7 separate regions of the Homo sapiens genome follow, and regions 1, 2, 4, 5, 6 and 7 are each linked to region 3. Evidence: promoter capture Hi-C in 16 types of primary human blood cells and fetal thymus (Javierre and others, 2016). All regions are on one chromosome and are shown on one strand. The core of a region is centred on a gene start or on the middle of the fragment in contact, and the rest is flanking DNA. Distances in the headings are between cores, read along the strand shown. Region 1 overlaps NEMP2 (nuclear envelope integral membrane protein 2). Region 2 overlaps INPP1 (inositol polyphosphate-1-phosphatase). Region 3 holds the start of ASNSD1 (asparagine synthetase domain containing 1). Region 4 has its middle 15 kb from the start of MFSD6. Region 5 holds the start of NEMP2 (nuclear envelope integral membrane protein 2). Region 6 overlaps MFSD6 (major facilitator superfamily domain containing 6). Region 7 overlaps HIBCH (3-hydroxyisobutyryl-CoA hydrolase).

Region 1 (3,304 bases), core at 11-2,510, 850 kb after region 3:
ATGTGTGCAAACACTCTCCCAAATAATAAAACTAGAGCTCAAAATGTCAAATTTGCTGGGGGAAAAAAATGATACATACCACCTCATATAACTGCATGCTCTCAGTGGGTAGTGCAGACTCCAGGAGGACATGAGGAGGATTATGGCTGCATAGGCAAACTGAGGCACGGCCACACCAGCATAGACCAGAACCAGGGAGAGGAGTCGCAGCATCCACATCAGAAGACTTCTGCTCCTGTCGTCTGCAAGGGGCCCATGCTTGTAACAAACAACAAAGCTGAAAAATCCAACTATCAAGACATAGCCTGGAAAAGTGGAAGAGGTAAAATAATATAAATTTGAATTTGAGACATTATGTGAAAAACCTGGCAGAGCCTTGACTTAAAGGTAAAAACTATTAGAGAACCTTAATTTTTGTGTTTTTTACCCCATAAAGTAAGGTTGAAAAATGCACATAGGGTGTTATTCCTTCCATATGAGATACTAGGCTGACTTTCGCAATAATTTGGGATGTACACTCATTATTATGATGATACATAAGTATGTCTGTGTTTTAGTCCAGCACCCTGGCTGGACTAAAATGTTATCATGGTTACTTTGGTCAGGAAGAAGTCACAGTTGTATGTCACCATTGGCTACAAACCCTATTTTTTATTTTTACCTTCTTGTCATGAAAGGAAAAGGTAATTTTACAGTGGAGGGAGTCACCCTCTGAATCCAATGTTCAGTCTCATCATTACGATGGTGAGACTATAAGCTATTCTGTGTCTCTGGGTATGATCCAAGGTGAAGTGCCCATCACCTCTTAGGTATTCTATCTTAAGTGTTTAATTTATATCTAACCAAGCCTTGAAGTCTAATTTCCAGTTTACAGAAAATACGCAGAAGAGAAGAATATGTTAAATTCTATCATAAAGGGGTCATCAGATAAATCTAGAAGGTGGAGATTCTACAGGACAAGCTTGGTTTCTTTAGCATATCACTATGATGAAAAAAGAACTGCTACGGATTAAAAGCAATTTACAGGACAAAACAGATACTAAATGTGGTTCTGGACCATATCCTAGTTTATATAAGCCATCAAGAATGGGAAATTTTTTCATGGCCTGGGTAATAGATGATTTTATGTAATTATTTTTCAGATAATAATTAACTGATTATATAGGAAAAGCCTCTTGTTTTTCAGAGAGGAATAGTGCAGTATTCAGGGGAGCATACCATGGTATCTGTAATTTAAAAGTAGCACAAAAAGAAGAACGAGCTAAAAATATACAATTTTCAAGTAAAACAACTTAATTGCTTTTGTTTTGAGGGAAGTGAACTTATGTGAGAAATTTGGTGCTAAAGGTTAGGAGAAAATTGATTCTCTCATTGTCCATTATTTTCTAGTTAAAATAAACAATAAAAACATTTATTTTGTAATGTAAAACAAGGAAAATAAATGGTTTCTTAGCCTCTGTGTTTCTGAAAAGGCAAGTTTTCATTAGTAATTTATAGTTAGGATTTCTCACCTTTCCTAATGAATACTTACGGGAAAGAAAGAAACAGCCACTTTTCAGAGAAGCTTTTACATTACCAGTTAGATGTGGTTAGAGCTTAACCACAATTCAGAAGCATGTGCATTCAAAAGGGACAAACACTTTTTTTTCCTCTTTTGATCATTACTACAGAAAACTAAGAAACATGTCATAGGGAAATCATCTAAAATGAGATCTAAATGAACTGAAATCAACAACAATGGGAATAAGATAAACAAAATATTATTTTTAGTAGCACCTTTCGTTAGTTCAAAATGAAAATTTAGATGTTGGAGAGAAACATCTATCAAAAGAAGGCCTCTAGTTGTACATCTCAGTTTTACCAATCACAGAGCATATTGTTTTTCTATTTACCTACCTAATACATATATCCTGTTTTCATACCACAGCCACTTCAGATCTTCCATCAACTGGCATACAATATAAACTGAGGCAAACCAACAACCAACCATTAGAGCCCAAAAGGTGCTATACTGTGTGTGGAAGAAAATAAATGACACATTTTTTGGTTCATTCACTCTCATAAAAATAAAAGCAAACAAATAAACCTTTTGTATTAGAAACTCCTACATCAAACTGATTTGAAGTCAATTTAAGAAACTCCCTAGGGTCTTAAGGTGTGGTCCACAAATCAGCAACACCGACATCACATGGAGCTTGCTGGGATGGCAGAGTCCTAGGCCCCACTGCAGACTGCTAAATCAGAACCTGCATTTCAACAAGATTCCCATCTAGCTTGCATGTACACTGAAGTTGGAGTTATAAGCACTGTTATAAAGAGTAAATTTATCTTAAAATAATGCTGCTGTTGCAAACTTTAATCAGTGTAACTGCAACACTACCAACATGAATTATTTATCCTCAACTAAGTTCAGTGTGTTATTTTATTGAAGGTGTAGCCGGGCACGGTGGCTCACGCCTGTATTTGCAGCTCTTTGGGAGGCCAAGGCAGGCAGATCGCTGGAGCTCAGGAGTTCAAGACCAGCCTGGGCAACATGGTGAAATCCTGTCTCTACAAAAAATACAAAAATTAGCTGGGCATGGTGGTGTGTGCCTGTAGTCCCAGCTACTGGGCAGGCTGAGGCGGGAGGATCACTTGAACCCAGGAGGCAGAGGTTGCAGTGAGCCAAGATCATGTCACTAAATTCCAGCCTGGGCAACAGAGCAAGACTGTGTCTCAAAAAAAAAAAAAAAAAAAAAGAAGGTGGGTTGGGGAACTAATAATAATAAAGAAATTCCCAGATGTAGCAGTGCTGTTATTCAAGGCCCCAATGGTTCAGCATCATGAGATTCCCAGCTCTATAAAGATAATAGAAATTTTCACTCAATATAGAAATAGCTTCCTATCACTCAAGAAAAACACATTACCGAGAAAGCAAAGGGGTCTCAAAAAAAGTATCATGAAAACTTAATACTCAGCTAAGCCTACATATAGTAATAAATAAAATCAGGAACTCCAGAAAAAGATACATTTTAGAGCCAGTTTACATAATGAAGAAACATAATTTAAATTAGAACCTATCATAATGTGAATTAATTTTGATTAATTTTTCATGTCTGTAAGATCATGATTTCCATTTTTTACTCATTTTCACATAGTATGCCTACCTTCGGAATGAATCTTTTCACCAACAGCAAGACAAAGACTAATGTCATTAGAACACCTAGCACAGTTCCCGAGGAGTAATAGAAAGTAGGGCTTCTGTCAAGATAAGCAGATAAAAGCTATTTAAATGCCAAAAAGCACTTTGAGTATGAAAAACATG
Region 2 (3,274 bases), core at 151-2,650, 700 kb after region 3:
TATATTAACTTATTTAGCTCTTATAACAATTTGATGAAGAACTACTATTACAATGCAATGGGTGAAAAAAGGGAGGCACAGAGAGGTTAAGTAACTTGCCTAAGGTTGCACATCAAGTAAATGGTAGGGCCAGTTTTTGAACACAGGCAGACTGGCTCCAGAGTCTGTGTTCTTTGCAATATTATATTGCCTTTTATATGATAATCTAACCATTACATTTGGGAGAATAGAACTTTATGGCAGAAAGCATTATAAAATATTGAAATAATTTCTATGAAATTTTCAAAATATTGAGAATCATTTAGAATCGTTTCAGTGAAATCTTGACCACAGGCGAAGAGATGAAATGCCATCATGAAATCTCTACAAACTATACTTTTTCATGTCATATAAAATCTTGCTCCGATAAACTAAATGAAGCAAATTTATTTTTCTTTTTTACTTATCAATATAGTTGGGTGCAAGGGATGGTTGAGCAACTGGATTAAAAATGTATCAACATTAATTTTTATGGGCTAATATTTGCCTCAAAGCATTATAAAAATTTCAGGCAGTTGTTTATTCATGAGCTAAAATAAATGATATTCCATTTTAGCTGTATAAAATATCTTTATTTCATGAGGCTTTTGTCTTGTAATCTCAGAACTGGTCTTTAAGCAGGCTTGGGAGACTGAGTTTCAGCCCTTGATGAATGGGCTGGTTGCCAGCCCTTGTTGATTTGTACTGTCCCACAAAATAATATGAATAATAAGTGTTGTGGGCATTATTAAAGCTATTGGTCATCTGCAAATGACCGAGTTCAAATATTTGAAGCACGTCCTTGCTTTTGTTCCCTGAGAATATGTGTATCAAAATTTAGGACATATTTTGAGAAAAATTATCTTTATTACAGAGAGGATCAGAAGCAAAATGCATCAGAAAGCTTCGTGATCATACAGAGATGACAGAAGATTCTTACTTGACTCCATTTATTCACTCTATATATTGATACTTAAATTATTGGCCAATAAAATCTTTCTCTTTTTTCATATCCCCTTCCTAGCCTGAATGATGATACATCTGAGAGTGGGGAAACAAACGCCTGAAAATAAAAACAAAATCGAATGTTATCTATCCTCTAATTCCTTCTATCCAGTCTCAAGTCGTGCTTTTAGATACTTGATCAACGAAATTGCCTTGTATAAGCTACTGGGATGTTGTTTAAGAGCAATAGTTAAAACATGTCCTTTGCAAATATTCGAATTCTATGGCCCTTAAGTAGAAGGATGAAGTTTCTAGAAGTACTTTTGCAAACTAAACAGGACATAAGGGAACCAGGCATCTACCATGATTTTGACTTTCTAGAGGGGCAAAAGAACAGAAAAATATTAGAAAATTAAGCACTGAGCCAAGTTGACTTCGTTTTTTTATACTTGGATTGGTTTCTAGAATTGGAAATTTTGGAATTTCAGTTCTGATTGTGCTATTTAATTTGAAATATAAAATTGAAATCTGTTCAGAATTGAGCATATGTGTGGGTTTTTGTTTTGTTTTTCGTCATACTCTGAATCATTCAGTTTCCAGGCTTGGAAAAAAATATTTTTGGAGAAGAATCCAATGAGTTTACTAATGACTGGGGTAAGTATAAGAATCTTAATGTGTCTTTGTAATTTAATTATCATATGGTATTCTAGTCTCTAGTTTATACCATGAACTAAATGTTTGGAAGCCACTTACTGTAAACAACATAATATATTTGAATGTTAAGGTTCATTCAATTTCTACCTCAGAATATCATGCCATTTAACTTAAGTAGAGAGATGTGGTATCTTAGAATAATTTAGCAAGTCCATGTATCATTTTAGATATAAATCTGTGGCATTTAAGTAACTTATAACTCAAGCTTTGGGAAAATTGCATGGCCCTTTGGGAATCTAATGTAAGTTATTAATGCCCCAAAGATGCCCATCTACAAAATTATGCAGACAATTTCAGATCCTAGGTTTAAACCCATCTGTGCGCTCTTGGGGGAAGTCCATGGACCTTGGCTAAAAGTACAGAGGTGGCCATGGTTCTGAAATACTGTGTGATCTTGAGCAAATTAACTCATCATTTCTCTAAGTCTCAGAACCTCTGTGAAGTACTTGGATTAACTAAAAGATTCCTTTTAGTACTAAGTTTTTTGGTTTGTTTGTTTGTTTTTGAGACAGAGTTGCTCTGTTGCCCAGGCTGGAGTGCAGTGGCACAATCTCGGTTCACTGCAACCTCCACCTCCTGGATTCAAGCCATTCTCCTGCCTCATCCTCCTGAGTGGCTGGGATTACAAGCATGTGCCACCACACCTGGCTAATTTTTGTATTTTTAGTTAGAGATGGGATTTCACCATGTTGGCCAGGCTGGTCTCAAACTCCTGACCTCAGGTAATCTGATTTCTTTCAGAGAAACAATTTTTTTTTTTAGTTTGTTTGGATTTAATAGTAGAAGAATAAAATAGTGAACATTAAATACTGATCATGTGACAAATACTTATATATCTAGAAACACAATTACAAAGAAAAAATGAGTTTCTAGATTAACTCTGAAAATTTTTTAGTCTCCTTCATGCACCACATATTAAGATGCAGTTAGTTCTATGTTAGTAATACGGGAAAGAAATCTTTTAAACCTCTGAAGGTTAAAAATAACACTTATGCCTGACTTATAAGCAATCTTACATTTAAAAATCTACGCTTGACTACTTCACAAACAGCTATTTTAATACATCATTTGTCTAGAATTATAGAGGCAAAAGGCATAGCCACATCCATTTTCCTGTTTGTTAAAAGGGCAGAGAAATGTGGAGAGAGGAAGAGGAGAGATGGTGATGATGATATTGCAGGCAAGACCAGATCATAGGAAGGGATTTAGATTTCCCTCTCAGTGGGATGGGAGGTCTCTGGCAAATTTCAAGCAAAGGAGTGATATAATTTCTTCCTTTGAATGATCCCATAAGTTTTACTGAGCCCAGAGTAGGTGTGCAGTAAGTAGCCATTATTAGCTTTATTATTCCCCAACTTTAACAGTCTAATTTACTTTGAATTAAGTTAATTTAACTAAATTTGACTGTTTCTTGCTGATTCAGTCATCACTGTAATAGATGTATATTGTGCTTCCCACACTTTACTGGTCATGTAATCGCCTCAGGATCTTGGTTAAAATTCAGTAGGTCGGCCGGGCGCGGTGGCTCACGCCTGTAATCCCAGCACTTTGGGAGGCCAGGGCGGGTGGATCACAAGGTCAGGAAATTGAGTCCATC
Region 3 (3,314 bases), core at 401-2,900:
TGTTCTAAGTTACAGACACACAGACACATAAAGAGGTTATTGCTTCTGTCTTACAACTTCAATCTCAGGTCAAAAGTAAACACAAAACCACAAAAATTCACCAGTTCTTCTGCTTGAGCGGCCTTTATGTTAAAACAAACAAACAAAACCTTACTAGCCCACATCTCAAATAGCTGTCCTCCTTCCCTCTCAGTGGACACAAAAGTAATTAATTAATTTGAGCTCACAAACAATAAACAAAAAGACTTACAAACTCGCTTCTCTGTCACCTCTCTTATTTATTTATTTGAACCCCTGGCCTCAAGTAATCCTCCCACCTCAGCCCCGAGTGGTTGCGATTACAGGTTTGAGCCACTGCACCTATCTACCTCTCTACCAATGAGACTAGACGTCCATCATCCAACAGATACCACCAAATGGTTAGACCACAAAACCAAACTCCCAATCATTGCTGCTATCAATGTATCAGTAATGTATAAGTTATACCTGAATAACTTATCAGGAATGTACAAATCAGAAATGAAAACACAATCTTTAAAAATCAATTATAAAGGAAAAATATATAACCACTTGGGTTTTCTGTAAGAGCAAATAAAAAACATGCCTGGCCTTAAACAACCCATGATGTATACATTTCTTTCGCCAGATAGTTTGATTCATCACATAAATCCAGTTGGGCATCTCTGTGGAAACTTAAGATTTCCAATAATATAGTATAATTATCAAAAACCTAAAATCATGTCTCTAATGTGAACATAAAATATATACATGTCAAACTTTTATTCAACTCATTGGTTAGTGAGGGAACCGATGACTTTAAAACCAATACAGAATATTAGAGAAGCTAGGCATATGTTAATAAAGAAATGTTAGGACAGAATGCAGGGTTAGATACAAAACTGACTAATGTGTTGCAGAACAATAAATCATAACCTGTGTTGGTATCTGGTACAACAAAAAATTATTTGCATCTCTACCAAACCAAAATCTCTACCAAAGTTAACCTTTGCCCCTACAGAATTGTAAAACAGCCCAGTCAATATAATAAAGTCAAGTCCAGAGCAGCACTGAAAGAGCATCCAGTAAATAAATCTCTTTTGCCTATTTCCAAGTTTTAGTCATTTTTTCCACAGAAATGAGATATTGCAAATATTGCACGGGACATAGATGCACTAAAAAACTATTAATTCATCTGAAGTTCATACTGTATTTTATCCGGCAACCCTAACCACGAGTTAACCAAAACTTTACCAAGTCTGTACAGTTCTTTTGCCAACACGGTATCTCTTAAATCTGTTCCTTAGCTTCATCTTTCCCTAGATAATAAATATCATATTAAGCGCTGTTTCTATTGCACGACTATTCTTCATATTTACCACTGGAGGGCGCACAGAACTCGTAGTATACTAGATAAGAGGTCATGAAGAAACCACCTGAGCGTTTCTGCATCTCAACCACAAGAGGCCAGTACAGGAACCTCAGATTTTGCAACCAGACTGTTTACTCGCTCCCTAAGCAGCCATGCGCAGGCGCGAAACTCCTCCCCAGGCCAGACCCGGCCTGCGCATGCGTTCAAGTGAGCGCGCAGACGCTATTGGTAAGACTCGCGGGAAAAGAAAGGGTGAGCGCGGCTGGAAGCGCGCATGCGCTGTGGCTAATGCCGTAGGCTCCTTCAGGGCTGAGCCATCCCGCGTGTCTTGCGCTCGGTGGAAATGCCCAGCCGAGGGACGCGACCAGAGGACAGCTCTGTGCTGATCCCCACCGACAATTCGACCCCACACAAGGAGGATCTAAGCAGCAAGGTGAGTGTGAGACGCGACGAAAAGGCTCCTGGACTCGGGACCGGGCGCCACTGGACCCTGAAGGTGGTCCGCAGCGGGCAGCGTGGGGCCTGCCTGGGCCTCGGCTTTGCCCTGCTACTTTGCTCTTTTTATTCATAGCACTTGACAGCCACAGTTAGTCCTTTTATTTTCTGAAAACAGTTGCGAAAAGGGAGATCTTGAAATTTGTCCCGAGACTGGACCCAGGTGACAGTGGGGCGGAGTTTTGGTTGGGTGTTTTCCTCCCTAGTCTTTTTAAACTTTTGGAAATACCGCCCACCCCAAATCTGTTCCATCAAAGATATTCTCCATCCAGTTAACCATGCCAGCAACCCGGGGTCCATCCTTGACCCCCATCATGGAAGCCTATCAGTTCTACCTTTGAAGCTCATTTCAAATATGTCCCTTTATCACCGTGAACACTCTTACCACCCCAAATAAGCCACCGTCATCTGCTATCGGGACCCCTGCCCCCGGCAAGGCCTTCCTAAGCGGTCTCTCCTCATCCACCTGTTAGCTGCTGCTTCTCCGTTAACCAGAGCAATGGTCCTAAAACACGCATTGGGTTGTCACTCATACCAAACTGGGGGAGAGAGGAAGCCAATATAATATAAGCCTTAACTGCCATAAACAAACAACCTTTAAAGATAAATGGGGGTGGCGAGGGTTATAGCCCTTCAGGTATTACATGTCCTAGATTCTACTTTGGTTCTGTCCCAAACTTACAATGACATCTTGGGCAAGTCTCTTTAATCTTTCTGTATCAGTTACCTTCTTTGAAGTAAAGTGAAATGTACACCTGTCATTCCTAAAATGGGAAAGCCCTGTATAAATGTTAAGTCTCAAAGAATGTTTACAAATTTGGCCTTGGAATTCAACCTCATTACTACAGCTCTGCCAACGGGGGAGACAGAAAGGTGCACATTCATGGGGATTGGGGGTGAATTTTCAAAAGACACACAGCCCATTCTGATTACCACCATAGCAAGCCACTTACGCATACTGGTGGTTACAGATCCCTGAGGTGTGTGTGAGGTAGCACAAATATGATAAAAGCTGCTTTTAGAGGCTCTTGTGATACTATGTAATCAGTCATGTTCACAAAATAAATAGAGTTAAAAAGAAACTTAGTTTTCACTTAGTTGAGCCCTCCCCTACAAATAAATGAAGCCCAGGCCAGCATGGTGGCCCAGGCCTGTAGTCCCAGCTACTCGGAGGCTAAGGTGTGAGAATCGCCTGAGCCCGGGAAGATCAAAGCTGCAGTGAGCCGTGATCGCACCACTGCACTCCAGCCTGGGTAACAGAGCAAGACCCTGTTTCAAAAAAAAAAAAAAAAAAAAAGCCCAGTTCAACAGTGCCAGCTCTATGCTAGTCATTGAGATAAAAAGAGGGAAAAATACCAAGATGGAACATGATAGGTCTTACTGTCCCCAAATAGGGCATTGCTTGATTTGAATGTTTGACTGCAGCACTTAGTACATAAAATCATGAAAA
Region 4 (3,307 bases), core at 432-2,931, 730 kb after region 3:
CCCCTCCCTACTCTACCCTGACCTCCATTCCTGGGGAACCACTGATCTGTTTTCTGTTCCTACAGATGAGTTTGCATTTTCTAGAGTTTTATAAATGGAATTATACCGGACTCTTTTTTGGGATGTAGTGGTGTCTGGCTTTCTCCACTGATGATAACTATTTTTATATTCATCTGTGTGTGTTTGTTTATTCGTTAATGCACTCATCAGTAGCTTGTTCTTTTTATTTCTGAGTATTATACTGTATGAATATACAATTTGCTTATCCATTCACATGTTGGTGGACATTTGGCTTGTTTCTAGTTTTTGGCTATTACAAATAAAGTTGCTATGTACATTCATACATGTCTTCATGTGAACATATGCCTTCATTTCTCTTGGGGATATACCTGGGAGTGGAATAGCTGGGGTAGATTTATGATTAACTTTTCAAGAAACTGCCAAATTATTTTCCAAAGTGGTAGAATCACCAGCTTTGTCTGAGGTTCCATTTGTTCCACATTCTCTTCATCACTTGGTATGCTGCTTTTTATTTACCTATTTCTTTATTCACCTATTCTTCTTCATATGTACCGGTATCTCACTGTGGTTTTGACATGTTTCCCTAATGTAGGTTTCTTACCTTTATCACTATTGACATTTTGGACCAAACAATTCTTTGTGGGGAGGGGACACTGCCAAATGTATCTCCAGACACTGCCAAATGTATCTGGCATGTAGAGGCAAAATTGTGCCCAGTTTAAAATACTGCTCTAATGACCACTGATAATGAACAACTTTTCATGTGCTTATTTGCCATCAATATGTTTTCTTTGGTAAAGTGTCTTTTTATTGCTAAGTAGTATTCTACTGTATGAATATACAATTTGCTTATCCATTCACATGTTGATGGACATTTGACTTGTTCCCAGTTTTTGGCTATTACAAATAAAGTTGCTATGTACAATCATATACGTCTTCATGTGAATTTGAAAAAATTTTGTTCATTTTTAAACAAAAGAATAAAATTTGTTGTTTGTCTTATTACTGTTGAGTTGTGAGAGTTCTTACATATTCTACATAAAAGTCATTTGTTGGATATATGTTTAAAACTAATTTCTCCCTTTTTGTGCCTTGCCTTTTCATTTTTATAACACTGTATTTTGAAAAGCAAACATTCTTAATGCTGATGAAGTCCAATGTATTGATTATTTTCTTTTCATACTTTTGTGTTTTTATATCCTATTTAAGAAAGCTTGACAAAGGTAACAAGTTTTCCCCTGTGTTTTCTTCTGGGAATCTGATGGTTTCAGCTATTATATTTAGGTCAATAATTTTTTTGCACAATTTTTTAGATAGGGGTCTTGCTATGTTGCCCAGGCTGGTCTCAAATTACAGGGCTCAAGCAATCCTCCCAGCTCAGCCTCCCAGGTAGCTGAGATTACAGGCACATGTCACTGCTCCAGCTCTCAGTTAATTTTCATATATGGCATGAGGTAAAATTGAGCTTTACTTTTTAAATAAGAATATCCATTTGTCCCAGCACTTATGTTGAAAACATTATCTTTCTCTATTGAATTGCGTTGGTAGCTCTGTTGAAAATCAATTGACCATATATATTTGTAAGTCTGATATCTGGACTCCCTGTTCTATTCCATTGATCTCTTTGATTGTCTTTATAGTAATATTACAGTATCTTGATTACTGTAGGTTATAATAAGTTTTGAATTTGGGCAGTGTATGTCCTCCAACTTTGACCTTTTTCAAAGTTTCTTTGAATATTCTAGAACATTTGAATTCCTTTTTTCTTTTTTTTGTTAGGATCTCGCTCGTCACCCAGGCTGGAGTGCAGTATAGCGATCACAGCTCACTGCAGCCTCAACCTCCCAGGTTCAAGCAATCTTCCTACCTCAGTTTCCAGAGTAGCTGGAACTACAGGTGCATGCTACCATGCCCAGCTAATTTTTAAAGTTTTTTGTGGAGACAGGGTCTCCCTATGTTGCCCAGGCTGGTCTCAAACTCCTGGACTTCAGCAGTCCTCCTGCCTCAGCCTCGTAAAGTGCTGGGATCACAAGTGTAAGCCACCACACCTAGCTGACCCTTTGAATTTCTATGTACATTTTAGCATCAGTTTGTCAATCTCTACAAATAAGCTTGCTGGGATTTTGATTGGGATTGTGTTTAATCTATAAATTGGAAAAGAAATGGCAAGCCTATAATCCCAGTACTTTGGGAGGCCGAGGTGGGCGGATCACAAGGTTAGGAGTTCGAGACTAGCCTGGCCAATATGGTGAAACCCCGTCTCTACTAAAAATACAAAAATTAGCCAGGCTTGGTGGCATGCGCCTGTAGTCCCAACTACTCAGGAGGTTGAGGCAGAAGAATCATTCGAACCTGGGAGGTGGAGGTTACAGTGAGCCGAGATTGTGCCACTGTGCTCCAGCCTGGTTGACACAGCAAGACTCCGTCTCAAAAAAAAAAAAGAAATGGCATTTTAAATAACATTTAGGCTTCTAATCGGGTAATATGATGAATCACTGCCATTTATTTAGGTTTTCTTTAATTTCTTTCAACTATAGTTTTTAGTGTACAGGTATTTTCGATACCATGTAAAATATGTTTTATAAATTTAAATTCGTGTTGTTTTTTGTCTATATAGAAAAGTACACTTGATTTTTAAATTGAATTCTGTATCTTGCAAACTTGATACTCTCACTTATTAGGTCTATTTGTTCTACAGACTTGTTTGTGGATTGTTGAGGATTTGCCACATAAACACATTATCTATGAATAAAGTTTTAGTTTCTCCTCATCTAGATGCTATTTATTTTTGCCTCATCACATGAAATAGAATCTCTAGTTCAATTTTGAAGAGACACTGGATTTTTATCAAATGTTTGTTCTATAGTATTGAGATGATAATATGATATTACCTTTTTGTTTTGTTAATATGGAAAATTACATTGATTTTTTAAGCTTCCATTCATGAGATAAACCCAGTGGATCATGATGTGTTATGCCTTTAAATATATTGCTGGATTCAACTTTGCTATAATTTGATTAAGAATTTTTACATCCGTGTGAGAGCTATTGGCCCTGACAGATTTTCTCATACTATCTTTGGTTTTGAGATCAGGGTAATGAATTCATAAATTCATTAAATTCATAAACTTCATAAATTAAGTTGGGAAGAGTTTCCTTTTCAATAATTTTCTGGAAGAATTTATACAGAAGTGGTATTATTTATTAAATGTTTGGTAGAATTTAATAAAACCTTCTGGGCTTAGAGTTTTCTTTGTGGTAGAGTTTTAAACTGCATATTCAATTT
Region 5 (2,990 bases), core at 490-2,989, 870 kb after region 3:
CCAATAAGTATTTATGTGTGTCTTTGATTAACAAAGCAGAGAAGCAGGCTGTTACTATTATACTAAATGCGGTAACATAAAAACTTTAAAAACACCAGGTTCACTGAGGTGAGGAAAATACTGGAAACTCTTCAGTAAAAACATCTTCATTTTACTCAAGAGAAAACTACGGTCCATAAAGACTCTGTGCCTGGACCAAGGTTATACCACAAGTTGTGGCTGAAGGAATGAGTGGTCTAGAACCCAAGGTGCTGGGTGCTGGTCTAAGGCTACTTCTAATTTTCTCGCTGTTGCCATGCCCAGAAACCTTCCTGCTTAGACAGATTTGTGTTTTATTTTTTCACCAGCATAAAATTGTTGTATTTCTTACTACCAAACCTTCGTTTTCTCATCTGTAAAATGGGTATAAAATGGTGCTTTCCCGCATAGGGCTTCTATGGGTATTAAATATGATAGATACTGCAGTTAAAGCACTTATAACACTGCCTAGCACATACTGAACACTCAAAAAATTTCTCTTCAATGAAAACTGGAATCCAACACTTCCCCAACATATAACTCACTGCAAGATTCCCTCAGTTGGGAGCTGTGGCAGAATCTGATAATGACCTCATCAACATCCAGTCTCTCATTCATCCTTAGATAAAAAACCGCGGTATAACCGGAGGGAGGGCCATGCCCAGCTAAAAGAATACACTTGGCAGCCTCCCTTGAAACCAGGGTAGCCAAAGCAAGGAAGGGAAGTTGGTAGACAGTGCACCCAGGAAATCTTTTAAAAGATTTTATGAGGGGAAAAAAAAAAAGAAACAGAAATGTGAAGCTCATGGTAAGTTAGCGGCAGGTCTGGAGTTGGAACTCTAGGTTTCTGACTTCCCCAGGTGTCCTTCCCAGATCCTTCCCCAGTGTGCCAGCATCTTAAGCCCACTCCGTGGCGAGCCCCTACAGCTAGCAGCCGCTACCAGTTCTTGCTTCCTGTGTGCCAGGCATTGTGCACACGAACACCACAAGAACCTTGTGAGGCCTCATTACCTGCCGCTCACGTGGGACCGTTATGTTTACTCGCTCAAGGTCACAACAGTCAGGGGCAGAAGAATTTTCGCTCCGATTCTGAAGCTGAAGCTGTTACCTTCTCTAGTCTTGAGACCAAAGGAATGCGAGATAGTGAAATAACAAGGATTTCAACACGCATTGATGTACTGTACAAAAGGCCGTGTGCTGAAAGTCTGGAGACTAGGGTCAGCTGTGCCAGTGACAAGCTGTGTGACCCTGGGCAAATCAAAACCTCTCTGAGTTTCGGTTGCTTCTGTAAAACGAGGGAATTGGGCGACTGGATCGCGCGGTTGCTTCTAATTCTAAAATTACAAAATGTCCAACTGCCAGGCGAGAGACTACGGAAGCCCAGTAAGACAGGAAGGGCGGGCGGGGCCTGCCCGGGAGACCCCAAAGCGAGAAAAGGGAGCGCCCGCCCCAGTGGGCCTCGCGGTGCCGCCCGGGCCAAAGAGCGCGCCCTCAGGGCAGCCGCGAAGCCGGGGAGCGAGCACGCACGCGCGCGCCGCCGCCGCCGGTCCCGGGTTACCTGATAACGCTGCCGCCGCCGCCTCCCCGCGCACGGGCAGTGTGGCCAGGGGCGGCAGCCAGAGCAGCAGCCACCACCGCCCTTGGCGCGGCCCCATTTCGTTAGGGGTCAGCTCCGTGCGACCCGAGCCCTAGGGGACCGGCTCCGCTGCGAGGAGCGGAAGTGGCGCGGGGGCTCAGAGAAGGCGGAGGGGGCGGTGAGGCCCGAACGCGGGAAAGGCGGAGACCCCGCCTCCCCGGGGCGGAGGGAGAGTTGGGCTCGTTGCTCCAGCCTCCGCCCGCGGCCTCGGGGCACGGCGGGCCCAGGCCGGAGGAGCTTTCGGTGGCGCGACCCCGCTGGCATGCTCCCGGCCTCGGCCTCGGCCTCGGCCTTGGCCTCCGGGCCTCCAGCGCACGCGGGGCGTCCAGGGCCTCATCTTCCCCTGGGGACCGCCCGGCCGTGTCCCGCTGCCCTCGGCGCAGGGGTGGGAGTTGCAGAGAGGAAGAGTCGCTAACCCGGAGTGTTTCTTAAAACTTGGCTGACCTGTGACCTGCGGATTTGGAGGCTGAATTCTCCGAGCACCTGTGAGTGACAGCCCGTGAATGGGAAGGTCCTTCGGCAAACGCCCTTTTTGTGAATAAAATACATAAAAGCCAGTTTCTTTATTTTACCTTTCTGTTTATCTTTTTACTTTCATTTGGTAACAAGCAATAACAAATTGGAAATTTGGCCGCTTAAGTAACACTGACTTGTATGTCTAATCTCGGACACGGCATTTCAGAGTACAGAGGGGCTCGTAAAATGTTCCTTCACCAACATGACAAGGTTCTCTTAAAATTACCTTATGTTAAAAAAAAGTTTCTTAATGTAATAGATATATTTTTAAATTAACATATAACCTGAATGATCTTAATACTGATAATTAGGAGATATACATATATTTTAAAGAACATTCCCTCCACAGGACCTGGAACCCATTAATTTGACTCAATATTCCATACTTAACTAGGACAGTCTTCTCTAATTCTGGTCTTTTGGTGAGATATCTTAGAGAACCCAAAGTAACAGAAATTATCCTGTTAAAAATAGATAAGCCTCATTTTTCCTAAAAGTCTGAGTAGGATGGACTAGGCTTTCCTTGCCCTCAAAGAAAGGTTTAACCAACTGCCCTTAAGCACTTGGCACCATGTGTACACCATGTATGGCTTTTAAAAAGTTAAGAAATTTCCTTGTAAGGGACTCTTCAGAGGGATGGTTTTTAAAAATAAACCATCATTACTTGAGTGAAGCCTGTCTTCAGAGAAACAGCAGAGCCCTGATCCAATTCTTTCCTGTATTCCCAGGTGCGGTGTGCACTTGCTTCTTGCAAGACAGCTTTTGTACCTAACCACATTCATTTTGATTTGGTTTAATTTTGGATGGCACTATGGAAAGT
Region 6 (3,209 bases), core at 657-3,156, 750 kb after region 3:
TTTTAGGATGGGAGGGGCGGGGTAGAATGGGGGAGAATAGGGCAAAGATGGGAAGAAATTCAGACCCTTAAAAAACCATGTTCAAGAGATGTGGAAAAAAATTGAATTAAGGGGGGCAGAGATGTCTTTCTTTGACATTTGTTGTGGGGCATGTTTTAGAATGGGAGACCAATTCAGGAAACATTTGGCAAGTACAAAACAGGAAAGGCCAGCTCTGAATGACTCTGAGGAAATGTTTGGAAGCATTTTGATCTGAGACCAAGAGTGGGATGGGGGAAAGACAGGGAAAGACAGGGACACTATGAATCAGCAGTGGGCAGAGTGAGCTCTGGTGTGTGGCTTTGAGGAGGATAAAAAGGAGGAACTGGTGCTGCCTGAACAAGCCCGATGTGTGGGTTAACCGTGCCAAAGGAAAGTGAGTGGCGAGCCTGGACTGGTAGTTAGCAGTCTGTGTTGGTTATGTAGAGAGACCTTGTTCCACAGGCAGGTGCACTCCACTCTGCACGGGGCCTGCTCTCTCTGAGCTCCAATAAACCAATGTACCATGAGCCCTGCTATACTGTGGGGTGAAGAGGAGACATGGCAGTCAGGGCCCAGGATTCCAGGAGAAACTGAGCACTGGAGCAGTGGCAGGAGTGGGTCCCTGTGAGTCACGCTGGGAATTCTTAACTGTTCAGGGCACTTTTAGGGACAAAGTTAAGGTAGAACATACTTGGCCTCAAGGTACTTGGCTCAAGGTAGAGCAAAGGAGGAAGGCACCACACCAAACACATAAAGCAGAATCATACAAAGTGACATGCATGCTGCCTATGACTTTTAAGAAGTACTGTGTTCCTGGGGCCTGTCTGGGGGGTTGGGTGGCAGGGGGAGGGAGAGCATCAGGATAAATAACTAATGCATGTGGGGCTTAATACCTAGATGATGGGTTGGTAGGTGCTGCAAACCACCATGGCACACGTTTGCCTATGTAACAAACCCACATGTCCTGCACATGTGTCCTGGAACATAAAATAAAGAAGCGCTGTGTTCTTGATTAACGTGCTCCAATCCAGCAAAGGCAAGCTTCTTTAGCTATTATGGAGTGCCTTTCTTAATTCTATTTCAAAATCATGCCTGTGCAATTGTGTTTAACTAATGAACAAATATGCCCCAATTCACATTTATAAGGGAGTTTAAATAAAAGACTTTATTATGATTCTTTTGAATGAGTAAACATGACACATTTCAATTTTATTTTCTGTGTAATGAGGCTCCCTGTAAAAGGTGTGCATATCTTTTAAGAGTGTCTCAAAGTCCTTGTGACAGTCCCTTTCAATTCCGTATACTGGGAAGCACAAGGCATTAGATGAATGATCAGACCTCAATTTAATAACTCTATAATTTTTCAGGAACTCCGGGAACAAGGACATCCTAATTGTCACTCAAATGTTTTATATTTAAAATAATTCCTTTTTAAATATGTATTTTTAAAGTGATAAATAATGATTTTTTAAAAATCCAGCCAAGTATAAGAAAAAAATTAAATAAGTCCTAATTTTACTACTCAGAGATAATCCCTGATAACACTTTGGTGTCATTTTTATCGAGTCTTTTTCTAAAATACATTTTATTTGAGCTACATAGATTTACAAATATAAACTGTACTATATCGAGAGGTTTGTGTCCTGCTCTTTCATTTAACATGATGCATTTTACCATGTAGTTAAGTTCTATTTTCCCATGATATGGATATAAGATTTTATTTTTCTCTATAGCTTATTTACCTATTTTCACCATAACTTATTTAACTGTCCTTATTATTGATCACTTACTTTGTTTCAGTTGTGATTGTTGTGAAAAGTGTTGCAATAAAAATCTTTACATTTAAGTCTTTGCTTTTCAGAAAGTTTATGTTTTTACTCTCAGTGAATGACAATGCCTGTCAATTCTCATACTCACCAGCATTGAATATTTCCATTTTAAAAATTATTGGTATGGTATGTATGTTAAAGTATCTATCTTTTTTATTTTTATTTATTTACAGACAGGATCTCTCTCAGTTACCCAGGCCGGAGTGCAGTGGCGTGATCCTAGCTCACTGCAGCCTTGAACCCCTGGGCTCAAGTGATTCTCCTGCCTTGGCCTCCTGAATAGCTAGAACTACAGGTATGAACCACCATGCCTGACTCATTAAAAAAAAATTGTAGACATGGGATCTTGCTTTGTTGCCCATGCTGGTCTTAAACTCCTGGCTTCAAGTGATCCTCCCGCCTCTGTCTCCCAAAGTGCTGGGATTACGGATGTGAGCCACTGTGCTCAGCCACTTTTTTATTTTATGGGCTAAGTAATAAACCTTTTTCTGAAACTAATTATATCATTAGAATTGATAGCTTATGGTAATTCTCAAGTTATCAGAACCCTAACAGCAAAATAAAACAATTTTAGATTACATATATGGGAAGGTACTAAGGATATAAATTATTCTTTTAGACTATAGCACATTTAGGGGATGTAAGTAAAAATAACTGATGATAGTCCAGGGCTATAGGAAAATGTATTATAAACCTTGAGATCTATATTCTGGTCTCAATTGTAAACTCATAAAAGGTCTGAGAAAGAAGCACCCATACATTTCTGTTTAAACTGCCTTGTCTCGTGTATAGATTGTGCTTTATTTAACCCTCTTAACTTCCTCAGTGTCTAATAGTGTTAGAATAGCTCTGTAATGTGAACTGTTACTTTTTCCTCCCGCTGGGCTTGTTCTAAGACAGGAAGCTTATTTGAAAGGTAGAAGGAAATGAAGTTCTGGGGCCTGCTTCAAATTTATATTATAAATTATGCTATATTGGCACAATATTTAATCAGGAGTCTAAAACTAATAAGTAGGAATCTGCTTCATGATGGCTGATAAGGTCTGAGGAACCTAAATTATAAATTTTTAATTGACATTTGATTATTTTCTTCCACAAAGTGAAAGTGAAAATCTAGTTGGTCTTTATTACTAAAGTCATCTTTATGGTTATAAGCTATTTCCTCCAACCCTTAAGAGATCAAAATAATTTGTTCCTTTTTCACCCTGTTAGCAAGTTGAAAGGAAATGTTAGAGAGGATTTCAGGTCCTTTCTTTCAGATTTATGATGTTACAAATATAAGTAAAATGTTTCTACAGAATATTTTATTTTAAGTGAATAGTTATTTCTTTCCTGGAGATAATGAATTATCATTCCAGT
Region 7 (3,060 bases), core at 159-2,658, 610 kb after region 3:
CAACATGCTCTTTCTAAAATACACTTTAAAACTTAATTTTCTATTATTCATTGTGTGTGGTGGGGGAATTTTCCCTTTACCTTTCTGAGTTCTTAGCTGGGACTGCTCCAACAAGACAGACCAACAAGAGAAAAACAGTTTATTAACATGTATACCTCATGTATACACAGAAGATTATCCAGGGAGAAATAAAAACTCTCCAAGAGGGAGCCTAAAACTCCAGCTTACATAGCAACTTCAACTCGAAAGGATGTGAAGGAAGGTTACCACAAAAAGCATGGTAAATAAGAGAAACGATTGTTTTGCAGATTTATGTTGTTATCTCTGTTGATAGGAGTCTCTTGCAATTTGGTCATCCTTCTCTTCCCCAGAAAGGGAGACACTCTTACAAATAGAGATTTCCTTTCTAGGTACACATTTCTCTTACAAAAAGGTAACTTGTGCTGTTTTCAGAGATGATCCTGTATCTGCTGGTTCTCAAAATAATCTGCTCAAAATAATCATTATGCCAAAGTGGCATATTTAGGGTGGCATATTGTGGTCTCCTATAATCAAAAAACCCTCTCACTAGTAGCATCTTAAGAGCATTTTGAGAAACACAAAAACAATACCTTACTGTGCCATATTTTGAGTTAGGTTGGGGAACCAACTTCATTTCTATTCGAAAATGCAAGAGGTGGTGGAAAAAAAGGAAGACTAGGAGGGAGAGAGAGGAGGAGAGAAGAACCTAAAATGTTCTTTAAATCCAATTCAGTTGGGGAGGGAAACAGGAGTGGTACTACATGTATGAAACAAAAATTTAAGGATTGTCCTCTGTTCTATATCTACTTAATTTTATATTTAAACAAATCTGTAATTGTTATATTCAAGGAATCTTCAAAAAGTTCACGGAATATGCATTATTATGAAAAAACTATGCAAGAACTTCAAATTTTTTTGTATGAAAATCAACTCTTACTAATTTGTCATAACATACCAGAACAGGATCTAGCTTGAGGTCCTAAGAGGGATAGGACAGCAGTCTGAAAGGGCCCCTATCAGAGCAATATGAATTACGCTAAAATTGAAGCAAGAACAAATATCAAATTTATGGTAAAGCTTGTGTAGAAGAAAAGTAAAATCACTGGTGAGTTGTGAAAAGTTTGTGAGGAAAATGCCTCAAAGATATCAACAGTTTACAAATAGATAACTCTTTTAAAGAAGGCATGAGACAATGTTCAAGATGCCCACAGTGGCAGACCATCCACATCAATTTGTGAGGAAAAAATTTATCTTGTTCATGCCCTAATTGAAGATGATTGAGAGTTAATGGCATGAACAATAGCCAATGCCACAATTCTTTTATAATTGGTTCAGTTTACACAATTCTGACTGAAAAATTAAAGCTGAGCAAACTTTCCATCCGATGAGTGCCAAAACCATTGCATCCAGATCTGCTGCAGACAAGAACAGAGCTTTCAATGGAAATTTTAAGTAAGTGAGATCAAGATCCTGAAGCATTTCTTTGAAGAACTGTAACAGGAGATGAAACATGGCTTTACCAGTATGATCCTGAAGATAAAGCACAACCACAATGGCTACCAAGAGAGAGAAGTGGTCCAGTCAAAGCACAAGCAGACTGGTCAAGAGCAAAGGTTGGCAACAATTCTTTGGGACGCTCAAGGCAGGTTGCTGGTTGACTTTCTGGAACACCAAAGAACTATCATGAAAAGTTAGCCAAAGCTTTAGCGGAAAAAGGCCCAAAGTTTCATCAGAGACTCCTCATACACTATGTAAATGCCCCTACTTACTCCGCTCATCAAACAAGGGCAATTTTGAGAGTTTCAATGGGAAATTATTAGGCATCCACCTTATAGACCTGATTTGGCTCCTTCTTACTCCTTTATGTTTCCTAATTGATATAGATTGGATATCTGTCCCCTCCAAATCTCATGTTGAAATTTATTCTCCAACATTAGAGTTGGGGCCAAATGGAAGGTGTGGTCATGGGGGCAGATCCCTCATGAATGGCTTGGTACATCCCCACAGTAACGAATAAGTTCTCGCTCTATCAGTTCATACAAAAGCTGGCTGTTTAAAAGAATGTAGCACCTTCTCTCTTTCTCACTCCCTCTCTCGCTATGTGATATGCCAGCTCTCCTTCCCCTTCTGCTATAATTGGAAGTTACCTGAAGCCCTCACCAGAAGCAGATGCTAGTGCCATGGTTCTTGCACACCCTGCAGAACTGTGAGCCAAATAAAATACCCAGCCTCAGGTATTCTTCTATAGGAACCCAAACAGACTAACACACCAGTCTTTAAAAATCTGTAGATGGCACCCATTTTTCTTCAGTTACCAATATAAAAAACACTGCATTTGCATAGTTAAATTCCCAGGACCCTCAATTATTTAGGGATGGACTAAATGACTGGTATCACTGCTGACAAAAGAAGTACCTTAAATTTGACGGAGCTTATGTTGAGAAAAAAAGTTATTTTTATTTCTATCTTAATTAATTCCATTTTTCCACAAACTTTTTGACGTCCCCTCATATTAACTTAAGAAAATGCAACCCCAGATGTTTTATATAAATGGCAAAAGAGATAAAAAAATTTGTCTTCCCCAGAAACAGAATAAATTTAGTCATTTAAATATCTATTCATAAAAAAATTGTTTCTCTTTCAGAAACACTGGAATAATTTTACATAATTCTGATCTACCATGTGGAGAACCACTCAGTAACATTCATTTTTATTTTACTGTATTTCAAAATACTGAGTAAATGTTTGAATTTCTAAAATATTAAAGATACTGTGCTACTCTTCATGGTGGGTAACAAGAGAAAATAAAACTGTCATTTTCTATACTGGAAAAAATAAAACCTTCTATAACAAAAACAAAAGGAAAGCCGTGGGAACCAAGCTCTGTGGCGCCATCTTTTGGACTGTACAAATTCTTAACAAAATTCTTTTACATTATTGTAAGAAAAAATTTATTGACCAGAATCAAGCAAGTACTATTCCTATGCCTTTTAAGCCCTGTTAGCTCCACGTTATTCTCACACTTCTGTACTAGGGTAT

The links. The method cuts DNA at HindIII sites, captures the fragments that hold promoters and counts their contacts. A CHiCAGO score of 5 or more calls a contact.
Region 1: a fragment that was not itself captured here is called in contact with the fragment with the promoter of ASNSD1 in region 3 in 2 of 17 cell types (naive CD4 T cells and fetal thymus); the score reaches 7.4 in naive CD4 T cells.
Region 2: a contact is called between a fragment that was not itself captured here and the fragment with the promoter of ASNSD1 in region 3, in 6 of 17 cell types (neutrophils, naive B cells, total CD8 T cells and 3 more). The highest score is 10.2, in neutrophils.
Region 4: a fragment that was not itself captured here is called in contact with the fragment with the promoter of ASNSD1 in region 3 in 1 of 17 cell types (neutrophils); the score reaches 5.3 in neutrophils.
Region 5: a contact is called between the fragment with the promoter of NEMP2 here and the fragment with the promoter of ASNSD1 in region 3, in 2 of 17 cell types (fetal thymus and total B cells). The highest score is 7.5, in fetal thymus.
Region 6: a fragment that was not itself captured here is called in contact with the fragment with the promoter of ASNSD1 in region 3 in 3 of 17 cell types (total B cells, total CD8 T cells and fetal thymus); the score reaches 6.4 in total B cells.
Region 7: a contact is called between a fragment that was not itself captured here and the fragment with the promoter of ASNSD1 in region 3, in 2 of 17 cell types (neutrophils and M0 macrophages). The highest score is 6.9, in neutrophils.

What each region holds. Positions count from the first base shown.
Region 1 is chr2:190,514,374-190,517,677 of GRCh38, forward strand. NEMP2 (nuclear envelope integral membrane protein 2) reads right to left here. Exons shown (of 9, transcript NM_001142645.2): 5 at 3,147-3,240; 6 at 1,897-2,011; 7 at 80-305. Among named protein-coding and RNA genes, the nearest start is that of NEMP2, 19 kb to the right of the region's middle. The HindIII fragment of the contact is 603 bases long and covers 960-1,562 here.
Region 2 is chr2:190,361,071-190,364,344 of GRCh38, forward strand. INPP1 (inositol polyphosphate-1-phosphatase) reads left to right here. Exons shown (of 7, transcript NM_001128928.2): 4 at 1,557-1,617. Among named protein-coding and RNA genes, the nearest start is that of INPP1, 19 kb to the left of the region's middle. The HindIII fragment of the contact is 960 bases long and covers 921-1,880 here.
Region 3 is chr2:189,659,809-189,663,122 of GRCh38, forward strand. It overlaps ASNSD1 (asparagine synthetase domain containing 1), which reads left to right and starts at 1,651. Exons shown (of 6, transcript NM_019048.4): 1 at 1,651-1,802. It overlaps ASDURF (ASNSD1 upstream open reading frame), which reads left to right and starts at 1,651. Exons shown (of 4, transcript NM_001353493.2): 1 at 1,651-1,802. The coding sequence starts at 1,713. RefSeq lists an enhancer at 1,709-1,898. The HindIII fragment of the contact is 6,437 bases long and covers 1-3,314 here.
Region 4 is chr2:190,391,672-190,394,978 of GRCh38, forward strand. No RefSeq gene overlaps it. Among named protein-coding and RNA genes, the nearest start is that of MFSD6, 15 kb to the right of the region's middle. The HindIII fragment of the contact is 898 bases long and covers 1,233-2,130 here.
Region 5 is chr2:190,532,983-190,535,972 of GRCh38, forward strand. It overlaps NEMP2 (nuclear envelope integral membrane protein 2), which reads right to left and starts at 1,740. Exons shown (of 9, transcript NM_001142645.2): 1 at 1,577-1,740. The coding sequence starts at 1,673. NEMP2-DT (NEMP2 divergent transcript) reads left to right here and starts at 1,856. Exons shown (of 5, transcript NR_183903.1): 1 at 1,856-2,139. RefSeq lists a silencer at 1,404-2,053. The HindIII fragment of the contact is 6,238 bases long and covers 1-2,990 here.
Region 6 is chr2:190,413,269-190,416,477 of GRCh38, forward strand. MFSD6 (major facilitator superfamily domain containing 6) reads left to right here. Exons shown (of 8, transcript NM_017694.4): 2 at 2,024-2,145. Among named protein-coding and RNA genes, the nearest start is that of MFSD6, 6.5 kb to the left of the region's middle. The HindIII fragment of the contact is 1,692 bases long and covers 1,061-2,752 here.
Region 7 is chr2:190,274,506-190,277,565 of GRCh38, forward strand. All of the region lies in intron 6 of HIBCH (3-hydroxyisobutyryl-CoA hydrolase), which reads right to left. Among named protein-coding and RNA genes, the nearest start is that of HIBCH, 44 kb to the right of the region's middle. The HindIII fragment of the contact is 624 bases long and covers 1,097-1,720 here.